Linked DNA regions of Homo sapiens: regions 1 and 2 are each linked to region 3. Evidence: promoter capture Hi-C in 16 types of primary human blood cells and fetal thymus (Javierre and others, 2016). All regions are on one chromosome and are shown on one strand. Each heading gives the region's core, a stretch centred on a gene start or on the middle of the fragment in contact. The rest is flanking DNA. Distances are from core to core; before and after follow the strand shown. Region 1 has its middle 2.7 kb from the start of LYPLA1-TCEA1. Region 2 has its middle 29 kb from the start of MRPL15. Region 3 holds the start of ATP6V1H (ATPase H+ transporting V1 subunit H).

Region 1 (4,053 bases), core at 348-2,847, 260 kb after region 3:
CTTTGTGGCTAGCTAGAGGTTTGTAAAATGCACCAATCAGTACCCTGTAAAACGGGCTAATCAGTGTTCTGTAAAGTGGACCAATCCGCAGGACTTGGGCCGGGACAAATAAGGAAATAAAAGCTGGCCACGCCCCCCATCCCCTAGCTGGCAGTGGCAGCCCTGGGTCCCCTTCCACACTGTGGAAAGTTTGTTCTTTCACTCTTCACAATAAATCTTGCTGCTGCTGCTCACTCTTTGGGTCTGTGGGACCTTTAAGAGCTGTAACACTCCCAGCACTTTGGGAGGCCGAGGCGGGTGGATCAGGAGGTCAGGTGATCGAGACCATCCTGCCTTAACACGGTGAGACCTCGTCTCTACTAAAAATACAAAAAAAAAAAATTGGCCGGTCGTGTAGTCCAAGCTACTTGGGAGGCTGAGGCAGGGGAATGGCGTGAACCTGAGAGGCAGAGCTTGTAGTGACCTGAGATCGCGTCACTGCACTCCAGCCTGGGAGACAGAGAGAGACCTTGTCTCAAAAAAAAAAAAAAAAAAAAAAAAAAACTGTAACACTCACCACGAAGGTGACAAGCTTTATTCTTGAAGTCAGCGAGACCATGAACCCACCGGAAGGAACCAACTCTGGACACATAAGCATGAGACTAGACTGCCCTTTTCTGCACAGGTGCCTTTATGGCCTAAAATGTAGTTACTCAACAAATGTGTTGCATATCAACTACATGGTAAGATCTGGAAGAGAGCACAAGATAGAAACACTTAAAGCCAAAATGCCCTGACCTTCAGAAGTTTACAATTCAGTGAAGGACATACTGGAGGCCGGGCGCAGTGGCTCAAACCTGTAATCCCAGCACTTTGGGAGGCCGAGGTGGGCGGATCACGAGGTCAGGAGATTGAGACCATCCTGGCTCACACGGTGAAAACCCGTCTCTACTAACAATACAAAAAAAAAAAAAAATTAGCTGGGTGTGGTGGTGGTTGCCTGTAGTCCCAGCTACTCGGGAGGCTAAGGCAGGAGAATGGCATGAACCCAGGAGGCGGAGCTTGCAGTGAGCCAAGATAGTACCACTGCACTCCAGCCTGGGCAACAGAGCAGGACTCCATCTGAAAAAAAAAAGGACATACTGGATACCATCCTTAGAGAGTAAGGTTCGGAAGAAAGCTGTAAAAAAAACAACACTCCATTTCTTTCACACGGTAACCAGTGTCAGAGGCGTGTGAACCAGAGCAACTCCATCTTAAATAGGGGCTGAGTAAAGTAAGGCTGAAACCTATTGGGCTGCATTCCCAGACGGTTAAGGCATTCTAAGTCACAGGATGAGATAGAACGTCAGCGCAAAATATAGCTTATAAAGATCTTGCTGATAAAACAGGATGCAGTAAAGAAGCCGGCCAAAACCCACCAAAACTAAGATGGCAATGAGAGTGAACTCTGGTCATCCTCACTACTGCACTCTCATTGAGAGATAACAACGCGCTAGCAGTCCTCGCTCATTCTCAGCACCTCCTCGGCCTCGGTGTCTGCTCTGGCCACACTTGAGGAGCCCTTCGGCCCGCCGCTGCACTGTGGGAGCCACTCTGTGCTGGCGCAGGCCAGAGCCAGCTCCCTCTGCTTGCAGAAAGGTGTGGAGGGAGAGGTGTCCGTGGGAACCGGGGCCAGAGCAAGTTCCGGGTGGGCGTGGGCTCGGCGGGCTTAGCACCTGGGCCAGCAGCTGCGGAGGGGGCACCAGGTCCCCCGGCACTGTGGGCCCGCCCTCACTGCGCTGGAATTCTCCCCGGGCCTCAGCCGCCTCCCCGCGGGGCAGGGCTCAGGACCTGCAGCCCGCCATACCTGAGCCTCCCCCGCCCCCGCCGTGGGCTCCTGCGTGGCCCAAGCCTCCCTGACCAGCACCTCCCTTTGCTCCGCGGCACCTGGTCCCATCGACCGCCCAAGGGCTGAGGAGTGCAGGCCCACGGCGTGGGACTGGCAAGTAGCTCTGCCTGCGGCCCCAGTGCAGGATCCACTAGGTGAAGCCAGCTGGGCTCCTGAGTCTAGTGGGGACTTGAAGAACTTTTATGTCTAGCTAGAGGATTGTACACACACCAATCAGCACCCTGTGTCTAGCTCAAGGTTTGTAAATGCACCAATCAGCGCTCTGTATCTAGCTAATCTGGTGGGGACTTGAAGAACCTTTATGTCTAGCTAAAGGATTGTAAATACACCAATCAGCACTCTGTGTCTAGCTCAAGGTTTGTAAATGCACCAATCAGCACTCTGTATCTAGCTAATCTGGTGGGGACGTGGAGAATATTTATGTCTAGCTAAGGGATTGTAAATAACACCAATCAGCACTCTGTGTCTAGCTCAAGGTTTGTTAAACACACCAATCAGCACCCTGTGTCTAGCTCAAGGTTTGTAAATGCACCAATCAGCGCTCTGTGTCTAGCTAATCTAGTGGGGACTTGGAGAACTTTTGTGTCTAGCTCAGGGATTGTAAATGCACCAGTCAGCACCCTGTCAAAATGGACCAGTCAGCTCTCTGTAAAATGGACCAATCAGCAGGATGTGGATGGGGCCAGATAAGGGAATAAAAGCAGGCTGCCTGAGCCAGCAGTGGCAACCCACTCGGGTCCCGTTACACACTGTGGAAGCTTTGTTCTTTTGCTCTTTGCAATAAATCTTGCTGCTGCTCACTCTTTGGGTCCGCAGTGCCTTTAAGAGCTATAACACTCACTGCGAAGGTCTGCAGCTTCACTCCTGAAGCCAGTGAGACCAGGAACCCACCAGAAAGAATAAACTCCAGACATACCATCTTTAAGAACTGTAACACTCACCGCGAGGGTCCGCAGCTTCATTCTTGAAGTCGGTGAGACCAAGAACCCACCAATGCTGGACACACCATCAACGCCATGACAGTTTACGAGTGCTGTGGCAATGTCAGGAAGTTACCCTATATGGTCTAAAGAGGGGAGGCATGAATAATCCACCCCTTGTTTAGCATAACATCAAGAAATAACCATAAAAATGGGCAACCAGCTATGGAGTAGCCATTCTTTTATTTCTTTACTTTCTTAATAAACTTGCTTTCACTTTACTGTATGGACTTGCCCTGAATTCTCTCTTGCGTGAGATCCAAGAACCCTCTCTTGGGGTCTGGATTGGGACCCCTTTCCTGTAATATCAGCGTTCTGAAGGATTTGAGGTCTTATTCACACTGTTTTTAATCATTCTTGTGGATTGGATTTGGACAATGAGAATTTTGTGGATTCTCCAAAAGTTTTAAATTGATGACAATTTACTGAAAATGATAATAGTGGGATTCACATTTCATGTACTTGTGTACATTTATCAGGCTTTTAAGTCCTTTAGTTGTGATATCAGTGTTACTGGAAAGGGATCCCAGTCCCAAGAGAAGATTCTTGGATCTCTGGCAAGAAAGAATTTGGGGCCATAAGTGAAAGCAATTTTATTAGAGAAGCAAAAACAAAACAAAACAAAACAAAAAAAAACAAAAGAATGGCTACTCCGTAGGCAGAGCAGGGCTAGGGGCTGCTCCACTGAGTATACTAATAGTTATTGCTTGTTTATATGTTAAACAAGGGGTGGATTATTCATGAGTTTTCTGGTAAAGGGACAGGGATTTCCTGGAACCGAGGGTTCCTCTTTTGACCATATAGGGTAGATTCCCTACCTGGCCATAGCAGTTTACAACTGTCATGGAGCTGGTGGAAGTGTCTTTTAACATGCTAATGCGTTATAGTAAGTGTATAATGAGCAGAGAGGACGACCAGAGGTCGTTTTCCTTGCCATTTTGGTTTTGGTGGGTTTGGGCCAGATTCTTTACTGCATCCTGTTTCATCAGCAGGGTCTTTATAACCTATGTCTTGTAATACCAGTCCGGTGACCTCCAATCTCATTCTGTGACTAAGAATGCCTAACCTCGTGGGAATGCAGCCCAGCGGGTCTCGGCCTCGTTTTACCTTCCTCCATTCAGAAGGAAGTCGTTCTGGTTCTAATGCTTCTGACGTTAATTGAGAAAACAAAACTCTCTAGTTCTTACTGTGAACATGTTCCAA
Region 2 (3,796 bases), core at 682-3,181, 320 kb after region 3:
GTGTCTTTTAATAAACAAAAGTTTTTAATTTCAATGAAGTCTAAATTATCTATTTTTTCTTTTTTTTTTTTGCCTGTGGTTTTGTTGTCACATCTAAGTTATGATTACCTAATGCTAAGTCATGCAGATTTACTCCTAGGTCTTAAAATTCTCTGTTTTCTAGCTTTAGCTTTTCATTTGAGCATTTAATACTTTTGAGTTAATGTTTGTATGTGATGTGAGGCAAGAGTCCAACTTTATTCTTTTGCATGTGGTATCAAGTTGTCCCAGCAACATTTACTGAAAAGAAATATTCTGTTCCCATTGAATTGTCTTGTATCTTTGTAGAAAATCAGTTGGCCATAAGTGCCATTGAGCTATATATGTCTAACTTTATACACTTGATACATAAAGTCTTATACAGTCTTGATTACTGTAGTTTTGTAGTAAGTTTTGAAAATAAGAAATCCTAGCCTTATTCTTCTTTTTCAAGATGGTTTTGACTCCTCTGGGCCCCTTGAATTTCCATACAAATTTGAGAATCACCTTGCCAATTTCTGCAAAAATGGCAGCTTGCATTTTGATAAATGCAAGCTTTAAATTTGTAGATCAATTCAGAGAATATGGCTATTTTAACAATACTAAGTCTTCTAGCCAGACATGGTGGCTCACTTCTGTAATTCCAGCACTTTGGGAGACCAAAGTGGGAGGATCACTTAAGCCCAGGGGTTTGGGACCAGCCTAGGCAACATAGTGAAACTCCATCTTTACAAAAAAGTAAAAAATAAAAAATTAGCTGGTGGAACATGCCTATAGTCTCAGGTACCTGAGGGACAGGCAGAGGCTAAGGTGAATCCCTTGAGCCCTGGAGGTTGAGGCTGCAGTGAGCCATGATTGTGCCACTGTACTCCACCTTGAGTGACAAAGTGAGACCATGTCTCAAAAAAAAAAGTCGTCTAATCCATGAACATGGGCTATCTCTTATCAGTATGTGTTTTTGTCTTTTATTCTATTAATTTGGTGTATTACATTGATAGATTTTCAGATATTAAACCAACCTTGTATACCTGGGATAAATTCCACTTGGTCATAGTATATAATCCTCTTTTATATGTTGCTGAATTTGGATTGCTTGTATTTTGTTGAGTTTTGCATGTATCATTTAAAATATATTTGTAGTTTTTTGTGATGTCTTTGGTATCAGTGTTATACTAGGCAAATAGAATGATTTCGAAGTGTTTCCTCCTCTTTTTTTTTTTGAAGAATTTTTGAAGAATTGGCATTAATTCTTTAAATATTTGGTAGAATTCACCAGTGAAGTCATCTGACCCTGGGCTATTCTTTGTGGGAAGTTTTTGATTAATAATTCTCTTGTTATACATCTTTTCAGATTTTCTATTCTTTTTTATTTCTCTTTTTTTCTGTGATTTTCTACTCTTCTTGAGTCTGTTTTTGTAGTTTGTGTCTGTCAAGTAATTTATCCATTTCAACTAGGTTATCTAATTGGTTGGCACACAATTTTTCACAGTGTTCTCTTTATTTTTATTATTTTATTTTATTTTTGAGACAGAAATGTGCTCTGTCACCCAGGCTGGAGTGCAAGTGGCATGATCTGGGATCACTGCAACCTCTGCCTCCCGGGTTCCAGCCATCCTTCTGCCTCAGCCTCCCGAGTAGCTGGGACTGCATGCATGCACCACCATGCCCAGCTAATTTTTGTATTTTTAGTAGAGATGGAGTTTCACCATGTTGGTTAGGCTGGTCACAGTGTTCTCTTATAATTCTTTTATTTATTTTTTATATTTCTTGAGACAGGATCTCACTCTGGTTGTCCAGGCTGGAGTGCAGTGGTGCCATCTCAGCTCACTGCAGCCTAAACCTCCTGGGCTCAGGTGATCCTCCCACCTCAGCTTCTCGAGTAGCTGGGACTATGGGCAAGCATCACCATGACTTGCTAATTTTTTGTATTTTTAATAGAGGTGAGGTTTCACAATGTGTCCCAGGCTGGTCTCAAACTCCTGGACTCAAGCAATCCACCAGCCTCGGCCTCTCATGGTGCTGGGATTACAGGTGTAAGCCACCATGCCAGGCCTGTTATAAGCCTTTTTTATTTTGGGTTGGGACTGTTGTCTTATTCATTTCTGATTTAGTCATTTGCTCTGCACGTGGTAAAAGATACCTTTTATATTACCATAAGAATATTTATAAACCAAAACTTTAAAATATTTCAATTTTTTAAAATTTGAGACAGAGTCTCGCTCTGTCGTCCAAGCTGGAGTGCAGTGGTGTGATCTTGGCTTACTGCAACCTCTGCCTCCTGGGTTCAAGCAATTCTCCCACCTTAGCCTCTCGAGTAGCTGGGATTGCAGGCACATGCCACCACCCCTGGCTAACTTTTGTATTTTTAGTAGAGATGGGGTTTCTCCATGTTGGCCAGGCTGGTCTTGAACTCCTGGCCTCAAGCAATCCACCTGCCTCGGCCTTCCAAAGTGCTTGAATTATAGGCATGAGTCACCGTGCCCTCCCCAAAACATTTTTTTTAATGTAAAGAAACTTACATTTAAAATAAAACTAGAATAGTAGACATACTATGTGCAAATGCCATAAATTGACATCCAGTCTGCCAACATAAGGATTCTATACATTTTTCTTGTGTACTTTCTGTAAGTCCTAAACATTTTCCTTCACAGTGCCTTCTCATATCAAGCAGAGGTTTGTGGTTATTTCTCTTCCCTGACTTCAATATTACATTGACATCAAATCATCACTCAACTGATTTTAAGATGAAAGACCACTGGTTTGGAGGACTAAGATTTATAATGCAGCAGGTGTTATAAACTGCTGACTGTCTTAAATATAAGGAGTGACTCTGGCCCAGAGAAATTCCTGGGGAGGCTGGGTCTCTTTTTATTGCTTCTCCCGTATGTAGGTGGGACAGTTCTCAGGAGGGATTGGGTCATTGTTCTGTGTACAAAAGTTGCTGGAGGCAGAGGTAGAAATTTGCTGTCTTGCACAGGGAGATGTGACAGAGAATTTTAGGCCATAGCCCAGTCCAGCCAGCTGTAGCTCAGTGTTGCTGATAGCGAGCCTAGTTCCTCTCTGGAGTCACATTGGTCAGAATAACCTGACACTGGGAAAGGAGTTATTCTAATGCATACTTATTGCTTCCTATTAATACCGTATGTAGCATCTCTGCAATTTTATTGCATTAACTGGAGAATGAGAAAGTGTTAGCTGCTGCTGGATATTGTCCGGAGTTAGAGAAGCTGCCATTATATTCCCCTCATGACTCGCCGCTGGCCCCTGCTGTCGAAGCTTCGCTGTGGCTTCACTCTCAGGGCGTGTATCTGCCATCACTGCCTGCATGCTGATAGCCTGGGACACACTATTGCACACCAAGCGCCTTTGAGCAGGCACTTGTCTCACTTTTCTCAAATGCTGAGTTGAAGGGGTGTCCACGCCTTTTTCCTCATTGAGCCAGTAGTCTCTTGGTTACTTGTATGCAGTAGTTATCGAGAGTGAAATGCTGACTTCTGCTTTGACAGACTAGAGTAAGGGACCCACGGAAGTCATGAGCAATGACCCCTGAGAAGCCTTCCAGCTCTGGAGCGCTCCAAATCATCCTCCTTTTCCCTCGAGTGGAAAAGTAGGTTTTGTTATCACGAAGTGAATGTAGCCGGCTCAAAATAGGCAAGACTGCCACCTACTGACCAAATGGGAACATTCCTCAGGGAATTTCTAGGTTTGATCTTTGCCCTACAATTAATTGGGATAATTAGTTATTCATGAATTTATAATTCAACAAACCTGAAATACA
Region 3 (4,084 bases), core at 885-3,384:
AGATCACCAAACTAATAGCAAGAACCAAAACTCAAATCCAAGTCTCTCAACTCAAATATCTGTGCTTCTTATTAGTTGTATGCACCACTCTAAAAAGGCCACCTGCCCCCATGCTGATTGCCAGGGCATATCAGACCAGTCTAGCAGGTTTTGCCCCTCATCCCCTTCCTCCCTCCGTTAGCCCAAGGACATTCCTCCTATGTTTCCCACTTATTCCAAAAGTACTTCCCCAGGCAGCCAGAGAAGGTCAAAAGCACCATAAGCCGCTCTGCTTCCCCACTAGGGCGCCAAGCTGTTTCCACCCCACTACACTTAACTCCCTAAGACAGCTAATTATTCTGAAGAGGAAGTGTTTCTTCCACATTTTTCAGTATTTTCCCTGTATTTCTCTCATAGAAGCATGACCATGAAAAAGTCTGATGCAAAAGCATATGACTGTCCATGATTCACAGCAAATTGGTACTTACTGAAGATAGGATTGCCAGTTGACTTTGTTTGCACGAACTTCTGCAGCCTTGGCAGCAATAATATTGGTGGGGACAGCAGCATCCACAGCACCTCGGATATCCATTTTGGTCATCTAAACTTCGTAATCTTGAATGTCTTTCAACAAATCTTCAATTTTGATGCAAGGTAAAAACAGAATACGAGGTGTTTCTTTTTTTTACAACTATTAATATTATGATTATGAATATCGTGATCACTTTAATCTCCCCAGGCATTCAACTCAAATATTAAATGTCCTAAGTCTGAAAGTATCATTATATTTCAAATATTGTCCACTGCTCCATAAAAGAGTTCTTTAGGCTTTTGCTTTTCTAGAAAAATTTTTTTCATTATTGGCACTAACACTGCAGTAAGATTTTTAAAGCAATCACCTAATATACTGAAATCAGAAATCATGATTAAATAGAATAGGTATAAATATGGGAAAAATTGTAAATTTATACAATTGTGGTTAACTTTTCTCATAGAGAAACAATAAGAATATGAATAGTACGGATAAGGCTAGTTTTATAAACATTTACTAAGCATCATTTTGAAGTGGCACATTAAAAATTCTAAGTCCTTTCGAAAATTACTCAAATTAAAATACACAAAGTGGGAACATAATTTCTTAGAAGACAGTGCTTTCCTTTTCAAACAAAATTCATAGTATTTGCAAAATCAAAATTCGGAGAGAAAGTTTTAGAACAAATACATATTACAATTTAGGTAAGCCAACAATGGCGGTCTGGCTGGACGACAAGAACCTACAATAATGAAATTCTATGTAATTCTCACTCCTAAACTTCCAGATACAAACGACTGATTTTAACACAAAGCAAAATACAGGTTGCCACTTGCAAAACATAAATTCACGGCCATGGCCACAAAGAAGTTAAAATCCTACCCAAAATTATATTCCGGGTTTCCAACGATCTTAATCAATTTGGAACTTAATCTCTGTATCTGAAGATTTGCTGTATAAACAACCCTGGGCAGCGCGAACGACAGGGCCCAGGAAAAAACAGGCTTCAACTGGGCCAGGCTGGAACTCTGCAGCCAAGGAGGCTCAGCCTCAGCGGCCCGTCCTGGCGTAGCTCAAGGTGTCTCTAGACAATTACCTAAGTCCCTGAACTACTCGCACCCCCAGCGATCCAGGGCCGTGGCCCAGTCCTGGAGAAGGTATACTTTTTACCCCTCCCCCTCCACTCTCCTGCCCGCCCCTGACGTTTCTTCCCCCTGCGAGAAAGGCTCCAGAATTTCGCTTAATAAACCTGGTTGAGGCCTGGAAGAAAAGCAATCTGGCAACCGGGGGCCGAAGAACAGGAGAGGACCAAGCGGCGAGACACCAGCACGCACCAGGCAAGCTGGAGAAACTGCAAGAGTCGCCTGACCTGGTCTGCAGCCTGAGACCAAACAACGCGAGGGCGGCCTTACCTCGCGAATCCTCGGGACCCCACAACGCACCCAAAGCCGGCAGGGAGGGTGGTCCGGGGCGCCGGGGACACAGCCGGGCTGGGGCGCCGCGTCAGAGCCAAGTAGGCGTCTCCTGTCAGGTCCAGAGGTCTGAGCAGTGGAGGGAGACTCCGGGAGCCGAAAGTGAAGCGGGTCCCGCACCAAGGAGACGTTGAGGGCCGCACAGGTAGAAGGAAGCCAGGGCGGCCGCAGTAGAATGACAGAGGCGCCGGTCACGTGATCGGAGGCACGTGACTGCTGCGGAAGGCGGAAGCCGGGAGACTCCAAAGCAGCAAGAGGAGGGGCGGGCGCTGCGGCGGGGCTTGTTCGGTGCGGACAACTGGATTCCCGAGTCCGTAACTTGGGCCCCGGAGCGACGCAAGGGTCGGGCCCCAGCCAGCCAGGGCAGGTGGGAGGCGGCGAGCGTGGCGGGCACGCTAAGACCCGCCGCCCCCAGACCTAGTGCCTCGCCTAGGGGAGGCCGAGGACCTCCGCCCGGAAGCAGCTAGCAGAGGCCAAAACGCTCTTATTGTAACCGTCATTCTTTTGAAAAGTTTGATTTCGCGCTTTCAAATTAATTTCCATTTGGATTTAACAGCTCCATGAAGCAGGCGTTCTTATTCTGATTTTAAATAGAAAACTCGGGCTGAGAAGTGGGTCTGAAAAGCTCTCTTAACCTAGGGTTGCACATTTAGCAAATAATAAATTCCATTGCAGTATTTACTTTTATACTAAAAAGTTATTCGTTGTTTATCTAAAATTCACATTTACAGGACGTCTGGTATTTTATCCAACAGTCCCATCTGGAGCCCAAATTTTCCCCTAGTCCAGGCCTCAGCAACTGTCTTTGCCTTAAAGTAAGAATGTACTGCCCTGGAGGTGAAGTATATATGATAGCATGTTTTCCTTAAAAAGCAATGAAAGGGGCCGGGCGCGGTGGCTCACTCCTGTAATCCCAGCACTTTGGGAGGCCGAGGCCAGTGGATCACCTGAGGTCTGGAGTTCGAGACCAGCTGACCAACATGGTGAAACCCCATCTCTACTAAAAATACAAAAAATTAGCTGGGTGTGGTGGCGCATGCCTGTAATCCCAGCTGCTTGGGAGGCTGAGGTAGGAAAATCACTTGAACCCAGGAGGCAGAGGTTGCAGTGAGCCAAGACCGCACCATTGTACTCCAGCCTGGGCAGAAAAAGCAAAACTCCGTCTCAAAAAGAAAAAAAAAAAATTCTTTGAAAGGGATTTATAACCAACCCATTTTTACTCGTAAAATTAAAGTCAGAATAATCAAAATCATGCATTGATTATGAATAAAGATATATAATAACAGTGTCAAAGATTGTACTAGGTCACTCATTCTGTCTTAGCCAGAAGTGAAAGTCTGTTGTTTTGAAAGCAAATCTAAGGGGAAAAACTTTCATAAAAGAGAAAAAGAAACCGATCGTGTACTAAGAAACTCCCAAAAGCTGAAACAGCATGTTTTCTGTGTAACTGAGCAAAGCTGGCAGTGAGGCCTGATCTTCGCATTTCCTTTCTGTATCACCTAAGCCACAGACTGGCGTGATACAGCGAGTCTCATCAGATTTCGGGAGGCTCTCCTCTTTTCCTAGAGGCACAAAGTTATGGAACAAAATCAGGAACAGTGCAGTGAGCAGAGGGGACTGCTTCACAGGCACCTGGGCTGGCGTTCTCCGAGCATCACAACATTACCAGACAATTTGCCTGGAGTAGGGAGAAGAGAAGAGGCAGGTACTCCCGGCATTATCTCTCTTAACATTATTTCTGTAACACTTCTATCGGAGATTTTTCTTGGTCCATTCAGGCTCCTGTAACAGTGCTGTAGACTGGGTGGCTTATAAACAACAGAAAGTCATTTTCTCACAGTTCTGGAGGTTGAAAGTTCAGAATTGGGGTGCTATCATGGTGAGGTTCTGGGAAGGATTGTCCCAGGTTGCAAACTGCTGTCTTCTCATTGTAGCTTCACATGGTGGAGAGGTGAGAGAGCTCTCTGGGGTCTCTTTCATAAGGACATTAATTTCATTCATGAGAGCTCCACCCTCATGACCTGATCATTTCCCAAAGGTCCCACCTCCTAATATCATCACCTTGGGAGTTAGGATTTCAACACAGGAATTTTGGGGAGAC

What was found. The method cuts DNA at HindIII sites, captures the fragments that hold promoters and counts their contacts. A CHiCAGO score of 5 or more calls a contact.
Region 1: a contact is called between a fragment that was not itself captured here and the fragment with the promoter of ATP6V1H in region 3, in 1 of 17 cell types (neutrophils). The highest score is 7.2, in neutrophils.
Region 2: a contact is called between a fragment that was not itself captured here and the fragment with the promoter of ATP6V1H in region 3, in 14 of 17 cell types (M2 macrophages, M0 macrophages, M1 macrophages and 11 more). The highest score is 14.7, in M2 macrophages.

The regions. Positions count from the first base shown.
Region 1 is chr8:54,102,637-54,106,689 of GRCh38, forward strand. No RefSeq gene overlaps it. Among named protein-coding and RNA genes, the nearest start is that of LYPLA1-TCEA1, 2.7 kb to the left of the region's middle. The HindIII fragment of the contact is 2,057 bases long and covers 570-2,626 here.
Region 2 is chr8:54,162,674-54,166,469 of GRCh38, forward strand. No RefSeq gene overlaps it. Among named protein-coding and RNA genes, the nearest start is that of MRPL15, 29 kb to the left of the region's middle. RefSeq lists an enhancer at 2,994-3,043. The HindIII fragment of the contact is 2,721 bases long and covers 572-3,292 here.
Region 3 is chr8:53,841,111-53,845,194 of GRCh38, forward strand. It overlaps ATP6V1H (ATPase H+ transporting V1 subunit H), which reads right to left and starts at 2,135. Exons shown (of 14, transcript NM_015941.4): 1 at 1,924-2,135; 2 at 468-615. The coding sequence starts at 580. RefSeq lists enhancers at 2,084-2,223, 3,521-3,570 and a silencer at 2,294-2,443. The HindIII fragment of the contact is 7,596 bases long and covers 1-4,084 here.